Linked DNA regions of Homo sapiens: region 1 is linked to region 2. The links are contacts of gene promoters, found by promoter capture Hi-C in human tissues and cell types (Jung and others, 2019). All regions are on one chromosome and are shown on one strand. Each heading gives the region's core, a stretch centred on a gene start or on the middle of the fragment in contact. The rest is flanking DNA. Distances are from core to core; before and after follow the strand shown. Region 1 holds the start of LINC03027 (long intergenic non-protein coding RNA 3027). Region 2 holds the start of ARMC3 (armadillo repeat containing 3).

Region 1 (6,628 bases), core at 3,508-6,007, 490 kb after region 2:
CTCACAATAACTTTAGATAATGTGCCCTGTTTCTTTTTTTTCCACTGATTCAGCAAGTATTTACAAAGCCCCCAGAACACTGCTAGGTACCCTGCTAGGCTCCAGGGAACAAAAAATTCCCTGCTCTCCAAAAGGAGATAAAAATCAAGTGGGCAGAGAAGCCAATAAACGTGTAAAATGCGTTATCATACCAGGAGGTTATAAATGCTACAAAGAGAAATAAAACAGGAGTATGGGAGATGGGCAGTAACAAAAAGCTCTAAATCCAAACTTTACTACGCTGCTGTCAAAAAAAAAAAATATTCTATGCTCCCCCCAACCCTGTTTTGTTTTTTGTTTTGTTTTGTTTTGCCCTTGCAGCTTGCCAGCTCTAACAATAGCTGCCTTTTAAATAGTAGTCACTCTGAGGGATGAGAAATTACCTAATGGGTCCAAAGGACACTATTTGGGTGGGGGCAGCACTGAAAGCCCAGACTTCACCACTCTGCAATACCTGGAAGCAACAAAGCTGCACTTCTACCTCCTGAATCTAAAAACAAAACTAAAATAAACAATAGATTCTTCACTGCTGACTCCAAGCCCCTTTCTTAGGTTCGGTTTCCTCCCGCTTCTCTGACCAGGCGCTTCCATGGGCTCTGCATAAAAATTCGAAGATGATGGGATCCCCAAATCAGCTAGCAGCCCCACAGCCCTCCCGCCTTCCTCCCCTCTCTCCACGCCTCCCCCAGGCCGGCGATGCCGTCAGGGCCCGTGTCTGAGGCGTCCGGTGGATTCAGCAGAACAAACATCATAAAAAGATTATTTGCGAGAGGAGAAGACGATGCTGTGAGAACTTGGTCCCAGAGACCGTCTCAGAGCAGCAGAAAAACCGCAGGAAACCTAAGGAGCACGACCCTGACGGCGACGGAGGGGGTGCGCGCGGACAGCACTGTCACCTCCCGCCGACGCCAGGGCTCAAATCGGAACGAAGACTGGGCGGCCACAAATGCCGGCTTCTCCTTTCTTTCGCTGAGGCGGAGAAATCGCCCAGCGGTGCCCGGCGCGCCTCCCGCGGAAAGCGGGCGGTGACCATTCCGACAGGCCGTCCGCAGCGCTCCCTTTCCGCAGACAAAGCTGCCTCGAAAGGCGCTCCGCGGCTCCCGAGTCACCACGTTCCATTCGGCAGAAGAAAGCGAAAGCGGCCGCTCCCTGTCAGGCAGCCAGACAATAGCGGCGGGCAGGCCGCTCCACGCCAGCATCTTTGTTTCCCTCGCGCCGGGAAACGAAGTCTCCGGATACCACAGAAACCAGAAGCCGATACCACAGAAACCAGAGGCCGCTCTTCCCGCTCGGACGTTTACAGCGGGCGGGAGCGTGGCGGCCACCTCCGTCTTGGGGAAGCGGCAGGTTGAGCCCCGCACCTTGCTGTGCCCTCTAGAGCGAGCGGAGGAAGCAGGCGAAAAGCTGCTGCGAGATGTTGCGGCCTTGCAGACGTCTCAGCTCCTCCCGGCACGGCGGCCTGGTAAGGCGGGAAGTAGCGCCGGCCCCGCGCGGAAGGAAACGTGCAGCGCGATGCGGCTTAGCGCGGCTTTATAGAGCCGAGGCTTTATAGAGCCGCGCCCCGGCGACCCCTGCGGTGACTGCTGTCGGTCCGCGTTGTGTGTGTTCTCTGTTTCGGCCTCCGCTGCCCGCTGCGGCCTTGCCCCTGCGCCTCGGAGTAGCCGCCGCGGGCCTGTCTGCTGGAGCAAGGAGACCCGGAGGCCGTCCCAGGGGCGAGGGGGTAGCGGCCCCGGCCTCTTGGGCCCTCGGCCTCGCGCCCACCGAGCCCTCTGCCCGGGTTTGGTTGGGTGTGGAGCTTGCGACGCGCCCACTTCCTGGGCTGTGCTTCTGCCCGAGCTGATGCCTCGCCGCGACGCCAGGCCCTATCTTGACAGCGGGTGCCAGCAGGTCCAGGCCTACTGACGGGCGGAAGTCGGCCCGGTGCCCCCTCACACGCCCACACGCCGGGCGTGCCTCAGTTTCCTCTATTGTGACAGAATAGAGATGAGACGATGCAGGTTAAAATTACCTACCGGCGCATAATGAGTTCTCCAGCATCTAGCTAGTTCTACCATAGGATTAATACCCAAAACCACGTGGGTGGAGCTGAAAAACACGATGCTGTGGGGGGAAGAACCCAAAAAGCCATAGTCGGTCTGATGTCCATTTATAGGACATTCTAGAAGAAGCAACAGTGGCGATGCAAAGCAGTTGCCTGGGAAAGGAGTGGAACAGGACAGAATGGAATGCACAGGAGCGGGGGAACTTTGGGGCAGTGGTGGGACAATTTCATATCTTAATAGGAGCGGCGGCAACATGACGTATACAGTCGCCCCAAATCATCAAACTGTAGTTTCTAAATGGGTACGGTTTATTAACATTCAAATTATAAGAAAAGTCATTTCCTCAAAAGTTTCGGGGTTGGGGGAAGAGTTAAAGAAGGTCGTGGCTAGGTGGTTGTTGAGGAATAAGGGAGAAAATCACAGTTTACAAAATCTGAGAGCTGAATCCGTGCTGTTTCTCGATTGAGAAGCAGTGGACATCAGCAGTAGGAATGGCTCAGGTCCAAGAAGGCTATGCCCTACCAGACCCGGTTGATGTGCTTCCCCGGATTTACTCTGTCCCACCGTCCACCTCCACCCCGGCCTGCACCTCTCGCTTAGGGTAGAGGCCTGGCCTCCAGTGCCATCTCCCGACAGCCTCCCCCAGGTGAAGGTCATGCTTCAGCACTGCCTCCCTGACAGAGGCTCTGATGATGGGATGCTCTGACTCAGACTCAGGTGAGAAATTTGAAGGAACAGAATGCTCTTGCCTAGCAGTTGCCGGGAGGGGTCAGGTGCTGCCCCCAGAGAAGTGGGAGAGTTAGAGGTCCGTGAGGCATACTTTCCCCAAAGGGGGCAGAAAGCATGAAGTGGTCAGCATAGAAACTCGTCTCCCTGCCATCCACACAGTCCCAAGGCATGCTGGTTCTACATGGCTTGTCTGGAAGCTGTCCTTGAATGTAAAGTTGTTTTCAGCTCAATAATGTATTTGCCTGCCTTCGCCTTTCCTTTCACCCTTACCACCTTGGAATTGTACCGCCTAATAAAATCTTCGCACTTAAACTTGGCCTCAGGCTCTGTTCATGTGAATCAATTTAGCAGCCTTTGGGCTTTAGATCTGTGCTTTTCTGAAAATTTGGCAACCACAACACAAAATTAGGATTTTTGTTTCCTCTGGGCTCTGGTTTACTGTCCCATTAAAGTGCTTCTGTAAAAGGCAACCCAATTGAGACCAATGCTGAATATATAAATTTTTATAGGTATGCCCCTGTTTGAAGTTGCTAGAGACAGTAAAAGTTTGGGCTTCCATTTATTGGTTCCTAGTGGTGTTTATTCTCAAGAGTAAATTCCTAGAGCATTAGCACTTAAATGCTTTAAAAATTTGGAAACTTAAACCTGAGATGCATGCAAATGCAAAACAAAATGCTTTCAAATAATGATCATAAAGCTGTTAGTCTGGGGAGGTCTACTTATGTTTTTGGTCATGTTCTAGCTTTCCTAAAGACATCAGGGGAGGATATGTTAAAGCCTTTTTAAGTGATTTCTGGTTCATAGTGCTTTGCAAAACAATTTTTCTTGACATTATTTTCTATATTAAATACTTCAGTAAGTGTTTTTAATGATAATGGCCACTGGCTTTGTGGCCTACTGTTTATTGCAATTTTGTCGGGCCTTATTCTAGGCTTCCCTTTCACCTGGGCTTCCCAACTATCTGTAACTTGATCAACAGTAATTTGGGATGGGAATGGCCAGGGTCATATGTTAAATAGGGCAGTTCCACTTTTCTGACCACAAAATCCTCCCCTTCCTGACCACTTAAAAACTGTTACATAATCTACAAACACATGGCTCTAATAAGTTCTACTACATACCTTGCCAAAGGTCACACCTGCAATCTACCTTTCTATTGGCACAATACATTTTATTAGAGAATATTTTTATCGCTTATAATTGTGGCCTATCAGAGCACTTAATTATTTTTAATAACACATTCTGCCTTCATCCACATCATCATAGTGAATTGGTTTTTGCAAGGAAAACTTGGTCATCCTAGCATGTGAACAGTTTTTAATCTTTTTTTGAAAAATGTTTCATCTGAGATTAATTTCTGTTGGGAGCAAAAATGAAGCCAGGCTGTACACATGATGTGTTTAAATACATTTTCACAAAAAGAAAAATATTAAGAATATCTTGGGTCATAGACATGCAGTATCAGAAGGCATCCCAATAAACAAAAGTGAGAGCTCCTCTTTAATTCCTAGCACTTGATTATTTCTAAATATATAAGGGCAGATAATGTTCAGCAAACGTGCAGGTTTTACAAATTGGCTCCTTCAGAGTAGGTCATAAGCTTGCTGCAATTGTGTTCCCATTACTCAAACATTTTTAGAATTCTTTAGAAATTTGCCACAAGAGTCTGAGTCACATTCTTTTAAATGACATCATCAGTGATAGCAAATCTTCCTCCTCGGAGAGCAGATTTTTAGAAATACTCAAGTCATTTGAAACCACACTGAGTTTAGTAACATCATTTGGCAGGGAAAAATTGAACTAGAAAGAGTAAAAATAAGTGAACTGATTAATGGTTTTTTAAAAATTAAACTCCAAGAAATGGAGGATTAGGGAAACTTTGGAGCAGAAATTAATGATTAGAAACAATGTTTTTGATCAACTCCAAAGGTAATTCTTTGGAAAAAGATCAAGAAAATGGAGAAATCGCTGATGAATCTATTTAAAAAAAAAAAAAAGAAAAGAAAATATAAAGGAGAAAGGAGATATAACAGATATGGATACTTTTTTTTTTTTTTTGAGACAATCTTGCTCTGTTGCCCAGGCTGGAGTGCAGTGGTGCAATCTCAGCTCACTACAAGCTCCACCTCCCAGGTTCACGCCATTCTCCTGCCTCAGCCTCCCAAGTAGCTGGGACTATAGGCGCCCGCCACCACACCCGGCTAATTTTTTGTATTTTTTAGTAGAGGCGGGGTTTCACTGCGTTAGCCAGGATGATCCTGATCTTCTGACCTCCTGATCTGCCATGGAGACTTTTTATAAATTATATGAGACTGCTATGTGAAATTAGCTATGTGCTAAACATTTTTTTCTGGAAAACCATAAATCACCCAAATTGAATCTAGGAGTAGAAAAACTAAGTAGATCAAAGCTAGGGGAGAAATTTTAAAACGCCTAAAGACCAAGAGAGGCTTTAGGCAAATTCTTGCAAATTTTGAAAGACATAAAATCCCCTTTCTAAATGAATAAAGACACTAAAATTTAAGTTTTTTGTGAGTGAAACCACTTTTATTATAAAACCTATCAAAAATGGTATACGCCAAGCATGATGGCTCACACCTGTAATCCCAGCACTTTGGGAAACTAAGGGGGGAAGATCGCTTGAGCCCAGGAGTTCCAAGAGACCCTATCTATACAAAGAGTAAAAAATTATCTGGGCCTGGCTGGTGGTAGGCTCCTGCAGTCCTAACTACTCGGAAAGATGAAGTGGGAGGATCATATGAGCTTGATAGGTCAAGGCTGCAGTGAGCCATGATCTCATCACTGTACTCCAGCCTGGGTAACAGAGCAAGACCCCGTCTCAAAAAAAAGAAAAAGAAAGGGCACTCAAAAAATAAAAGTTCACATAAGAAACTCAATGCCAGAATTCCCCCCAAAATACCAAAAATGCCAGCAAATTAAATTCAATAAAGTCAGTCATTTTAAACAATCAGGTAGATTTTATCCTAGAAATGCCAGGATATTTCAATACCAGGAAAATAGTTTATATAAAAATACATTTAGATTATATAAGAATAAAAACCTTATTATCTCGATAAGTGATAAAAATCTAGCACCTATTCCCAATTAAAACAACTATATTTTTTAAAAACTTTTAGTAAATGTTAAACTGATAGCCAACATCGTATCTTTTAATAAGATTTTATAAAAATAATAATGGTACTGGTAAGACAGCCAAATTAACTTTACACCTTCTCTCTGAAGGCCTCCTGAGTAGCTGGGATTACAGGTGCACGCCACCATGCCCAGCTAATTTTTGTATTTTTAGTAGAGAGGGGGTTCCGCCATGTTGGCCAGGCTGGTCTTGAACTCCTGACCTCAGGTGATCCACCCGCCTCGGCCTCCCAAAATGCTGGGATTACAGGTGTGAGCCACTGCACCTGGCCTGCTTTTTATTTTTTAATTTCATAAAGTACTTTGTACATCTTCCCACATCAGCACATATAGACCTACCAAAATTTTTCGTAGTGGTTAAGTACAGTTATATGAATGAACCGTGATTTTTCACTCACCTATTAGGGACCATTTAGACTATTTTCTTGTTTTCTGCAATTACATACATTTAGAGCATCCTTGAATGTCTTTGCCCATTGATGCAGGTGTACTTGTTGGATTAATGCCTAGCAATAGAATTGCAGATCAATATTTGGATAGCTATTTCCAAATTAATATTCAAAAGACTGCATTAATTTATAATTCCACTAAAAGTGTGTTCAAAAATGTTGATAATTGTTGAGGCTAGGTGAGAGGCACATTAGGCTTTCATTTACTTCTGTGTA
Region 2 (7,374 bases), core at 1,412-3,911:
TTAGCTCAAATTGCATGTCAAGGGTCAAAAGCAACTCCTAGCATTAGAGACACTGACCAGAATTTATCACATACATTAAAAAGCCACGTCTTCATAGAAACTCCTAGATACTTCTGAAAGGCATTTATTCTAGGTCTCTAACTTCAGACCACACTACTTTTAAGACTTTGGAGGGCCTGGGCAAGCTTATTCACACAATAGCCAATATATTAAAATGTTAAAATGTGCCTGCATCGCCCATTAAATGTCATTTGCATCATAAAAACTTTTGAAATTTGTATTTGAAATTACTCAGCAATCAGTACATACACCTGGAAATTCTTGTAAAATGAGAAAATTGTTTTCAAATGTAATAAAAATTTATATTAATAAAACATTTAATTAACACTAATTTTTCAGTTCTCTTTTCATATTTTAGAGCCAATATAAGCATTTTTTTCAAATCTCAAACATCTTCCTTAGGTGCTTGAAAAGTGAACAGGCCCTAGACCTTGTGCCTATAATATTTCAGGCAGAGAGGCAGAAACTATTCTGGGCAAATGAGAATCTATCCTACAATTAATCTCTAGGAAAAAAAAAAGAGAGAGTTTATAGCACTCTATAACCAATTCCAAGACAGAGCAGCCTTTGATTTATAAAATAATTGCTTATGAATAATATTCAGGAAGCAATTTAATTACACCTGCATAAAGTTGTTTTAAATCATCTGATTTTCACTTAGGAACTAATTTTTCCTACTTCAGGATAGTGTTTTTGAGCAATTGCATAGTGCAGAGGTTAGAAGAGCTTACACAGACAGTATTGCAATGATAGAGTGTCTCCTAAGCTAAAGAATGAAGTTAAAAGCCTATGTGTTTTATCATGGCCCGGCGTGGTGGCTCACTCCTGTAATCCCAGCACTTTGGGAGGCTGAGGCGGGTGGATCACCTGAGGTCAGGAGCTCAAGACCAGCCTGGACAACATGGCAAAACTCTGTCTCTACTAAAAATACAAAAATTAGCCTGGAGTGGCGGTGGCATGTGCCTGCATTCCCAGCTACTGGGGAGGCTGAGGCAGGAGAATTGCTTGAGGCCGGGAGGCGGAGGTTGCAATAAGCTGAGATCACCCCATTGCACTCCAGCCTGGGTGACAGAGCGAGACTCTGTCTCCTCCCCCAAAAAAAGCCTATGTGTTTTATCACCATATTGGGTATGATAGTTAATGGAGGAGAGACTGAACAGCTGACATAGGTCGGTGGCAATGAGCTATGGAGATGATCCTTACAAGGGTAATACATTTCACTGTGGAGAATTTGGAAAACAAGGGCACAACGAATAAAATAAAAATCACCCAAAGATAAGCTCAGAGAGATCAATACTATTTCTTTTCTTTTCCTTTCCTTTCCTTTCCTTTCCTTTCTTTTTCTTTTTCTTTCTCTTTCTCTCTCTCTTTCTCTCTCTCTCTCTCCCTCTCTCTCTCTCTTCTCTTTTTTTCTTTTTCTTTTTCTTTTTTGAGACAGAGTCTCACTCTGTTGCCCAGGCTGGAGAGTGGCCTGATCTTGGCTCATTGCAACCTCCACCTCCCAGGTTTAAGAGATTCTCCTGCCTCAGCCTCCTGAGTAGCTGGGATTACAGGTACCCGCCACCACGCTCGGCTAATTTTTGTATTTTCAGTAGAGACAGGTTTCCCCACATTGACCAGGTTGGTCTCGAACTCCTGACTTCAGGCGATCCACCCGCCTCAGCCTCCCAAAGTGCTGGGGTTGTAGGCGTGAGCCACCGTACCTGGCTTTGTGTGTTTTTCTAAAGTGATTTTAACATCCTGCCTCAACTTCTATCCCCTACTTTCACCTTCCCTTCCTGGGTTCATATTCCTACTAAATTCTTATATTAACAAATAAATTCATGAAGTCTCAGTTTCCCTTCATTGCTTTAATAATCTCCAGTGGATTAGCATAACATGCCATTACAAATATTTTAAAATCCCTTAGCTATCTAGCCAGTCTCTGATTGTTGAAATTTGTTTCTAATTTTCTGGAAATATGGACAGGGCTGAAAGAACGTCCTTGGACATAAAATTTTCATCCATTATCCCCAACTATTTCTTTAGGATAAATCTCTAGCAGTAAATTAACTGGGTGAAAACTTCAGGGCATTGGATATGCAAACAACTCTGCTCTAAAAATGCATCTTCTTGACTACTGGAGCCATTTTTTTTTTCACGAGTTGATTGGTCCTTTGTATTTGTTCTTCGTGAACGTTCAGCCTATGATTTTAAATATTTTCTAATGAGTTCTGCTTTGAGAAGATTTAAAGAGGAGGAGGGCTCAAGAAATCGAGGCCACTTCTGAGTTGCTCACAGTCAAGTAACGGAATCTGACTTGATCTCACCTCAGATCCCCTCTCGGGCCTCAGTTTTGTCACCTGTTGAATGGGAGGTGGCGGGATGCTTACGAAACCCACCCCAAGCCCCGTCTAACCCTGCGGGCGCGAGGCAGAAACTAACAACGCCCAGCAAGGTGTTGCCTCACTGACCCAAGCAGTCTGCGCCCACGTGGCACCTTCTCCTTTCCCAGGTTTTCCTCAGGCCTCTGCCTTGGGCCTCCCCACCCCACGGGGTTACCTTTACCTGCCGGGAGATCCCGCCGAGTAGCTAGCTGCTCCGCAAACCCAGCAGACGAACCCCCAGTCCCTTGTTGTGCCTCGTTGCTAGGCGACGCCACGCCGCGCCGCGCCTGCGCCCTGGGAACGCTCGGGGCTGCTAGGGCGCCCATTGTCCCGCCGAGGGCAGCGGCCAGTGCGGGAGGAGCCAAGTGCGTCCGCGATTACCTGAATCCAGTGCTTTAGGGGAGAATGGAAACTGGGGGTGGAAGCTGTAAATCAAGAGGCAGTTCAGCCTCAGTTTCTGGCCCAAGGACTGGCTGTGGGTTCAAATACGCAAATACTATTGCATTCTTCCAAATAGAGGCGTCAGCCGGAATCTCTATGCAGATGAAACCCACATCAGCCACCTCCTGCCCAGGCTCCGTTAAGCTGCAGACCTGCACTGCCACATCTCTTTGCACTAGGATGTCCAATCCGTTTCCACAGAACTTCTCATGGCCCTTCAAAGCCCCGTTCTCTTCCTCTTTCTTTCCTCTTCCTGCCATTCTTCCAATTGCCTAGACTCAGAAGGAGCTTCAATTTCCCTTCTTCCTCCCATGCCCCCCAACCACAGTCATCACTTCAGCCACTTCTTGGCGGCTTACATTTTGTTTCCTGCTTGTTCCCTTTCTCATATCCTTATTGTCACTTCAATCCAGCTCGTCATTTTTTGGCCTTCTGGCTGAGAAATTCAGTTGCTCTCTGCTTACAGTTCTTTCTACGTATCACAGGCAAATCGGCCATCCAGAAATCATCGTTCCAGTCTTGTCACTTCCCTACTCAAATGTCAGCGGCTTCCTAAGATAAATTTTCAACACATTGGCCTGGAATTTAAGACCGTCTGCTCCATCTCTACTCCATCTGTGCAACCACATTTTCAACCGATCTCCACCATCCAAGCTCCAGCCAAACTTACTGTTCCCGAAATTTTCCACACTTTTCTCTAGATTTTCTTGCTTATCTGTTCATCACTTCATTTTTCAACAAATATTTATAAAGTAGCTTCTATTTCCCAGGTCATGTGCAATACCTGAAATATTCTCTCATTTCCACTTAATTAAGCCCAGCTCAAATGCCATCTTCATAAAATATTTTTTGATTGCCTTTAGCAAAAAGTCTCTCCCTCTCCTCTTAGACTTTGCAAATTCCGTCTCCTACCGGCCCCTGTTGGTCTCCCAGTCCTAAGAATGATAGATGCTTCTTATAATTGCTACTTTTATATATCTTATGTTCTCTTCTCACCATTTAAATTGCCTGATAAACAGCTTTATAACAATTATTTGTATTCAGTTTTCCATGGTCAAATATCCGGTGTGACTTCTGTATAGAAAAGATCTTAAGTAATGGTCATGAAAGTAGGAAAAGGATTAAGACCAAGTAGCATCAAGGAAACTAAGGAGGGAGTTTCAAGAATATAAGCGTCATCAAGTGTTATATGATTGGACCTTGAATAATATACACCTGTATTTTCAGCCTCTCCCTGTCTTCCACGTTTTTTCCTGTTGGTATATAATTATGTTGAAGCCCCTCCCATGCCTCATCTAAAAAGCAAAAACAAATAAAATCCCTTTGATGTTGTTGTTCCTTCTAACTATTATCCTATTGTTTTCTTTCTCTTCTTGGTCATGACTTTTCAAAAAAAGTAGCCAGCATTAGATACTTACATATTTTTAACTTCCTATTCACTCTTCAGACTATAGTGACCTGTTTTCATCCCAGCACTAAAACTATCCATATCCATTGGATGCTTCTTAGCCCTCATCTTGCTTGACATTGCTGCTGTATATAATACTCAATGACACCTCATTCTTGAAACTCTTTTCTTGGTTTCCTTGGTACTACTTGCTCTTGATCTTCCTCCTACTTTCTTTTATGACCATCATTTAAGATCTTTTCTATACAACAGGGTCTATCTATGTTGCCCAGGCTTGTCTTGAATTCCTGGCCTCAAGGAATCCTCCTGACTCAGCCTCCTGAGTAGCTGGGATTTTATAGGGATATATGCCCTATTGTGGTTTTTTTACAGAATCTTAAATGTTGAAATTTCCCAGGGATCTGTCCCTTGTTCTCTTTTCACACTATATGCTTTTCTAGGTGATCTTATTTATATTTGTGACTTCAACTATTGCACATATGTAGCTCCTCATCAGACTCCGGTACTGAACTCTAGACCCATATATCCTACTTGCTACACAGTTCCACCTGGATACCCACAGGCACTTCAGTCATCAACACTACCCACCTAAACTCATCATTTTCCCAGTATAGACATGTTTTTCCATTTATCTAGGGGTACCAACAGGTGTTCTACCCAAACAGACCACCAAGTCTGACAGGCATCCTAGACTTATTCTCCTTTTCATGCAGTTAATTATTGGATTCCCCTAAAAGTTTCTTGAATTTATTCTCACCTTCCAATTCCCATAGCCCAAGTACAGAAAGTCACTGTCCTTTACCTGAATTCATCTAACAAGCCTTCTGGCAGGTCTTCCATCCTCTAGACTCATCCTAGCTTCAATTCATCTTCTCCAAGACAATCAAAGTAATCATTCTAAGATGCAAATTTAATTTGTCTGTGTCCTTGCTGGCTCCAATAGCTCTAACACACAAATGATGAAATGCAACAAGATTCTTAAATTGACACTCAAGATCTTTCTTGTTCTGACTGACTGCTTCCTACTACAATAGCTTCTGTCATTGTTCAAAAATATAGCAAACTGCTCAGCATTCTCCAAGTACACCATGACATTTTGAGCCCTTCACTCCCCTAATCAGCCTGAAAACCACTTATTCATCTTTCAAATTTTAACTTAGTCATCATTTCCTCCAAAAAGTCTTTATTAGCTTCTTCAGACAGAGGGAAGCATTTCTCATTCGTTGCTATAGCTGTACCTTACACTTGCTCTATTTGTTATTTTCACATGATACTGTAATGTATTTGTTGACATGTATGTCTCCCCACCTAGGCTGTTTCTAAATGTTCTTCAAGTAACTAAAGCTTTTTTAATACTCACTATGAGACTGGCAATTATGAAGTGGTTAAAGTGCACAATTAAATCCACACCGTAATCCTGTGAGGTCTGAATGAAGTACAGGGTGATTAGCAGAAGGTCACTCTACTAGTAAATGGTAAAGACAGGACTTGAACTAAGGTCAGCTTGACTTTTATATCCATGTTCTGCACCAATATATCATACCAGCCCATCCTGAAATTATAGTGTTATAACAAGTTGTGATTTATTTTATTTTATTTTATTATACTTTAAGTTCTGCACAATGTGCAGGTTTGTTACATTTGTATACATGTGCCATGTTGGTGTGCTGCACCCATTAACTCGTCATTTACATTACGTATATCTCCTAATGCTATCCCTCTCCCCTCCCCCCACCCCATGACAGGCCCCAGTGTGTGATGTTCCCTTGTGATGTGTTTTTATGAAATAATTAAAACTACTGCTTTAATTCTTGTTTTATAGACTTAGTCTTTGCTGAGTATGTCAAATTTGGGCGGGAGATCATGTTTATTTTAACATATACAGTTGGATGGGTTTGGACAAGGGTTTGCAGTTGTGTAACCATCACCCCAGGGAAGTTTCAGAGACCATCTCCATCATCCCAAATTTCCCTCATGCCCCTTTGAAGTCAAATCTCTCCCTCTAACTCACTTCCCTGGGAACAACTGCTCTGCTTTCTCTCCCTATCATTTTGGCTTTTCTAGAATGTCTTATAAACAGAACCATGCAATATGCTGTATTTTGTGTCTGGCTTCTTTAATTTAGCATAGTTTAGGAGATTTGTCCATGGTGTTGCATTTATCCATAGCTTATCTCACTTTATGGCTGAGTGGTATTGCACTGCATAGATGTACAACATCCATTTACTGATTGATGGACATTCTGGTACTTTCCAGTTTGGGACTGTTATAAATAAATATGGTTAAATATACAGGGTGTTGTGTGAACGTGTTTCTCTCTTCTTGGGAAAATACCCAGGAGTGGAATTTCTGGGTCTTATGTCATGTGTATGTATAATGTTATAACAACCTGCCAAATTGCTTTCCAAAGGAACTATACTGTATTTGCATTCCCACCAGCAAAAATGAGAGATGCCATTGCTTCATGTGTTCTACAGCACTTGATGTTGTCAGTCCTTTTAATTTTAGCCATTTTAGTGGGAGTATAATGGTATCTCCCTCTGGGTTTAATTTGCATTTCCTTCATGACTAGTGATGATGATCCCATTCTATGTGATCACTAGCCATTTCTGTACCTTCTTTTGTGAAATGCCTGTTAAAATATTTTTCCTACTTTTAATTGGGTTGTTTGTGTTCTTGAGTTGTAAGAGTTCCCTGTATAGTGATGATAATCCCATTCTATGTGATCATTAGCCATTTCTGTACCTTCTTTTGTGAAATGCCTGTTCAAATATTTCTCCTACTTTTAATTGGGTTGTTTGTGTTCTTGAGTTGTAAGAGTTCCCTGTATATCCTGGATACAGGTCATTTGTCAGATATACATTTTGGACATATTTTCTGACAGTGTGTGGCTTATCATTTTGTTTCTTAAAAATATATTTTGTACACCGGAAGCTTTCAGTTTTGATGAAGTCCAATTCATTCATTGTTTCAAAGGTTAGCCTTGTTTTGTTTTATTTCATTTTGCTTTTGCCCTGCCTAAGAAATCTTTGCCTAGTCCAAAGGGAAGAAAATAGACTTCCTTTTATGTTTTGTTTTAGAAGTCTTCCAGTTTTGATT

The links. Contacts are between HindIII fragments. The study calls those that stand out against the background at their distance.
Region 1: a contact is called between a fragment that was not itself captured here and the fragment with the promoter of ARMC3 in region 2, in 1 of the 25 tissues and cell types used here (small bowel).

What each region holds. Positions count from the first base shown.
Region 1 is chr10:22,431,924-22,438,551 of GRCh38, reverse strand. It overlaps LINC03027 (long intergenic non-protein coding RNA 3027), which reads left to right and starts at 623. Exons shown (of 1, transcript NR_036533.1): 1 at 623-3,127. It overlaps LOC105376449 (a long non-coding RNA gene), which reads right to left and starts at 1,477. Exons shown (of 4, transcript XR_001747392.2): 1 at 1,401-1,477. RefSeq lists enhancers at 208-708, 716-875, 709-1,209, 1,176-1,225 and a silencer at 1,696-1,875. The HindIII fragment of the contact is 7,336 bases long and covers 1,090-6,628 here.
Region 2 is chr10:22,923,340-22,930,713 of GRCh38, reverse strand. ARMC3 (armadillo repeat containing 3) reads right to left here and starts at 2,661. Exons shown (of 19, transcript NM_173081.5): 1 at 2,608-2,661. The HindIII fragment of the contact is 8,735 bases long and covers 1-6,414 here.